Regions from separate parts of the Homo sapiens genome. Here region 2 is linked to region 1. Evidence: promoter capture Hi-C in human tissues and cell types (Jung and others, 2019). All regions are on one chromosome and are shown on one strand. The core of a region is centred on a gene start or on the middle of the fragment in contact, and the rest is flanking DNA. Distances in the headings are between cores, read along the strand shown.

Region 1 (2,700 bases), core at 129-2,628:
ACACCTCTCCTGATCTCTGTCTCACCCTCCCACCTATCTCACTGTGGGATGGGAAGGAAGTCAATGGAAAACACAGGAGCGCATTCTAATAATAGCCCACATGGTATCCAGTGACACAAATAATAGTGATGGTGACAATAAAATAACAGTAAGAAACACAGAAGGAGCGTTTCCTTGGACAAAGCACTCCAGAAACAACAACAAAAAGGGGCTGCCTTTCCATCTATTCTATGAATCCCAGATGTCTATTTTATCACTGTCTGTTCCTTTTCTGTTCTCCCTGGCAGGGTTTTTACAGCCCCTGCTCTTTTTCTAGATTATGCTGCATCTTCACAGTTTCCCCTAAATGACTCTGAAGAATTATAGACAGTGCTGTCTACAATTATAATAATGGATATGGTGGTCCATTTCCAAGACAAAGTACCTCAGATAGGCTGAGGCCCACAAACTATGGAAGGACAGAATATACTAGGCCCATAGCTGGTGCATGCTTGTCGGGGTCCCCTTAGTTACCCTCTCCCAAACCAGAGTTTAGTCTAGAATGAAAGTTTACTAGCCAGCAAAATAGCTCACTTTATCTATTCTTATCAGCTTGCCTGACTGCCTAGGTCATAAGTCAAATACTTGAAAAGCCCTCGAGCTGGCTTTGATTGCAATGTATTATAGGCTGCAACAAAATGCAGTGAGACAATCCTAAAGAAAACACCTAAAAGCCTCAACCCAGCAACCAATAGGCGACGTCTGGGAAGATCGTGACCCCATCGTACTTAGCCTACGAGGAACCAGGGGAGAGACTTGTGCACTAGGGGATAAATAGCTTGTTGTAACCGTACTGGGTGTGCCTGCCTACCAGACATTCAATCTTGCAAGACCATCATTAAAAGTCTTGCTTCCACTGTTTTCTGTGTCTCTGAGTCCATTCTTTGGGTTTGGACGGGTGCGTTTGTTTCTCATAGTGCAGGTCTGGAGCCGGACTGAGATGGGGAGTAGAGGGACCCCTTGAAACTTCAGGGTGGATGAATATGAAGTTTCATCACCAGCTGTGATGTTTGGTGAGTAGTATGCTCTCAGATAAGTGAGAGCCAAGGAATCTCTTTCAAGTCTCTTTGCCGTGGGCAGAGTTCAAAGAATGACACTCACTCACGGCTTTGAAAGGTTCTAGGGAAGCCTTTACTCTGAGATTTCGAGAGGTCTGAGAAGGTAGCAGTCACTTGGAACAGGTCCAGGAACATCTTACTAAGCTGTTGATGCAGTTTTTTCTTATGCTTTCTGTGGCTTCTCATGCCCCACCCTTTCCAAGAGGCCAGTGCTTCTGGGCACCTCCCTAAATGTGGATAAGTTCATAGCCTACATAAGTCCCTGTATAAAGTCACTGACCCATTTGCACTGCTGCTGTCCCATCAGCTGCTCTGAAGCTCCATGGTGCCCAGAATCTTCGGTAAGGTAACCCTTGCCCCAGGTTGAGCTAATGCCTACTGTTATCCCTAATGTACCTCTGAACCTCAAACTTAATTCTCTCTTCCCTATTTAATTCTTGGTTTCCCACCTCATAATCACCCGTGTCCTCTCTGACTGCATTGCAATCTCTCTTCCCCACCTGCAAATTCCAGAAGCTTAACCCTTTCCAGAGCCCTCCCTGCATTTCCTCACCTGCCAAGCCCAATGCCCAGAACCTGCACACAGAGTCAGTCCCAAAATCTGCTCTGAGCTGTTACAGCAACCAAAGAAACTCAGAGACATCATCTTGTGCCCCATGATCATGATCTGGTGACCCCAGAATCACTGTCATTCTTCTCTCAGCTGATCTTTATTTTTGAACTCCTGGGCTCAGACTCAGAAGGGACCATAGGTGAGAATGGGTGTGGTGAGTGGAGGGAGAAGAAAGGAGGGAGGATTATAGCACTGTGGATAGGGTTGGGGGCTCCCAGAGGTCCCCTGCCAGCTCATCAGCTCTGACTCTTCCAGATATTGGACTGTGGTTGTGCCAGTTGACACTCAGGAGTGGAGACTAGATCTGCAATCTGTTGGGACTGTGATGAGGGGATCATCCTGCCCTCGAACCAGACCCAGCCCTGTAGCCCAGGCACTATTGCCTGGAGTTCCTGGGCTCTCAGCGCCAGGAAATCATGAGGTTCAGTGTCTCAGGCATGAGGACCGACTACCCCAGGAGTGTGCTGGGTAAGTAAGGGCAGCCCAGGCAGTGGACTGAGTTTTGTTGTGTGTATTCCATCAAGATGAGCAATGCCTGCTGTGTTCACTAACTTCTTTTTGGGCAACCATCTCTCTCTCTCCCTCTCTCTCTTCTCTCTCTCTCTCTTCTCTCTCTCTTTCTCTCTCCCTCTCTTTCTCTCTCCCTCTCTTTTCTCTCTCTCCCTTTTCTCTCTCTCTCTCTTTCTCTTTCCCACTCACCCCTCACCCTTTCCACCTCTCCCCCTCTTCCCCTCTCCCCCTCCCCCTCCCCTCCCCATCTCCCTGTGTCCCTCTGTCTCACATCCCCCTCTCTTCTCTTCCCCTCTCCCCTCCCTGTCTTTTCCCTCCTCTCCTTCCTTCTCTTCCTTCCTCTCTCAAGTTGAAGGAAGAGTAGCTCAGTCATCTTCCAGAATTGCTTTTTACCTCCGAGTCACCTGGCTCCATAGCCCCCGACCACCGCATGCCCATTTAGCTGTTCCTCTCTTTCCCCTCTACCCTCACCCTTGGCAA
Region 2 (2,700 bases), core at 88-2,587, 100 kb before region 1:
AGACCAGCCTGACCAACATGGTGAAACCCCCTCTCTACTAAAAATACAAAAGTTAGCTGGGCATGGTGGCACATGCCTATAATCCCAGATGCTGAGGAGGCTGAGGCAGGAGAATCGCTTGAACCCGGGAGGCAGAGGTTACAGTGAGCTGAGATCGCGCCACTGCACTCCAGCCTGGGTGACAAGAGTGAAACTCTGTCTCAAAAAAAAAAAAGAAAAAGATGGGTAATAATGAACTTCACTGAGCTAAAGGAGGATGTTGTATCCCATTGCAAATAAGCTAAGAATCATGATAAATTATACAGGAGCTGACAGAATAGCCAGTTTAGAGAGGAACATAACTGACCCAATGGAACTGGAAAACACAAGAACTTCACAATGCAATCATAAGTATCAGTTACAGAATAGTTCAAGCAGAGGAAAGAATTTCAGAGCTTAAAGACCGTCCTTCTGAAATTATACAGGCAGACAAGAATAGAGAAAAAAGAACAAAAAGAACTGAACAAAACCTCTGAGAAATATGTAAAGAGACAGAATCTATGACTGATTGGGGTACCTGAAAGAGACAGGGAAATTGGAACCAAGTTGGAAAACATACTCCAGGATATCATCCAGGAGAACTTCCCCAAACTTGCAAGACAGGCCAACATTCAAATTCAGTAAATACAGAGAACCCCAGTGAGATACTCCATAAGAAGATTTACCCCAAGACATATAATCAGCAGATTCTTCATTGTCGAAATGAAAGAAAAAATGTTAAGGGCAGCCAGAGAGAAAGGCCAGGTAACCTACAAAGAAAAGCCCATCAGACTACCAGCGGACCTCTCAGTGGAAATCCTACAAGCCAGAAGAGATTGGGGGCCAATATTCAACATTCTTAAAAGAATTTCCAACCCAGGATTTCATATCCAGCCAAACTAAGCTTCATAAGTGGAGAAATAAGGTCCTTTTCAGACAAGCAAATGCTGTGGGAATTCGTCACCACCAAGCCTGCCTTGCAAGAGCTCCTGAAGGAAGCAATAAATATGGAAAGGGAAAACCTTTACCAGCCACTACAAAAACACACTGAAATACACAGACAAGTAACACTATGAAGCAACCAACAAAACAAGTCTGTAAAATAACCAGCTAGCATCATGATGACAGGAACAAATTCACACATAACAATACTAACCTTAAATGTAAGTGGGCTAAATTCCTGAATTAAAAGACACAGAATGGCAAGTTGGATAAAGAGCCAAGACCCATTGATATACTGTCTTCGAGAGACCCATCTCACATGTGGGACACACATAGGCTCAAAATAAAGGGATGGAGGAGAAATTTATCAAGGAAATGGAAAACAGAAAAAAGCATGGGTTGCAACCCTAGTTTCTGACCAAACAGACTTTAAACCAACAAAAATCCAGAAAGACAAAGAAGGGTGTTACATAATGGTAAAGGGATCAATTGGACAAGAAGAGCTAAGTATCCTAAATATATATGCATCCAATACAGGAGAACCCAGATTCATAAAGCAAGTTCTTACAGATCTACAAGAGACTTAAGACTCCCACACAACAATAGTGGAATACTTTAACACCCACTGTCAATATTAGATCATCGAGACAGAAAATTAACAAAGATATTCAGGACCTGAACTCAGCTCTGGATCAAGTGGACCTGATAGATATCTACAGAACTCTCTACCCCAAACAACAGAATATACATTCTTCTCATTGCCACATGGCACTCACTCTAAAATTGATCACAAAATCAGAAGTAAAACACTCCTCGCAAAAGCAAAAGAACTGAAGTCATAACAAACAGTCTCTCAGACCACAGCACAACAAATTAGAAATCAAGATTTAAAAATTCACTCAAAACCACACAACTACATGGAAACTGAACAATCTGCTCCTGAATAACTCTTGGGTAAATAATGAAATCAAGGCAGAAAGCAAGAAATTCTTGAAACTAATGAGAACTAAGAGACAATGTACCCGATTCTCTGGGACACAGCTCAAGTGGTGTTAAGAGGGAAATTTATAGCAATAAATAACCCACATCAGAAAGCTAGAAAGATCTCAAGTTAACAACCTAACATCTCAACTAAAAGAACTAGAGAACCAAGAGCAAACCAACCCCAAAGCTAGCAGAAAACAAGAAATAACCAAGATAAGTTATTGGTTAACAGAAATAAGCAATAACTGAAGGAGATAGAAACACAAAAAGCCCTTCAAAAAATTAATGAATCCAGGAGCTGTTTTTTTGAAAAAATTTATAAAATAGATAGACTGCTAGCCAGACTAATGAAGAAGAAAAGAGAGAATAATCAAATAAACATAATCAGAAATGACAAGGGAGATATTACCACTGACCCCACGGAAATATAAACAAACATCACAGAATACTATAAACACCTTTATGCACATAAACTAGAAAATCTAGAAGAAATGGATACATCCCTAGACACATACACCCTCCCAAGACTAAACCAAGAAGAAACTGAATCCCTGAATAGACCAATTATGATTTCCGAAATTGGGGGGTAATAAATAGCCTACCAACCAAAAAAAGCCCAAAGTTGGAAGCATTCACAGCTGAATTCTACCAGAAGTACAAAGATCTGGTACAATTTCTACGGAAACTATTCCAAAAAATTGAAAGTGAGGGATTCCTCCCTAATTCATCCTATGAGCCCAGCATCATCCTGATACC

The links. Contacts are between HindIII fragments. The study calls those that stand out against the background at their distance.
Region 2: a fragment that was not itself captured here is called in contact with the fragment with the promoter of IGFL2 in region 1 in 2 of the 25 tissues and cell types used here (mesenchymal stem cells and pancreas).

The regions. Positions count from the first base shown.
Region 1 is chr19:46,146,860-46,149,559 of GRCh38, forward strand. IGFL2 (IGF like family member 2) reads left to right here and starts at 1,379. Exons shown (of 4, transcript NM_001135113.2): 1 at 1,379-1,438. The coding sequence starts at 1,420. The HindIII fragment of the contact is 7,392 bases long and covers 1-2,700 here.
Region 2 is chr19:46,045,242-46,047,941 of GRCh38, forward strand. It overlaps a transcript of IGFL4 not described here. Among named protein-coding and RNA genes, the nearest start is that of IGFL4, 5.6 kb to the left of the region's middle. The HindIII fragment of the contact is 3,232 bases long and covers 1-2,700 here.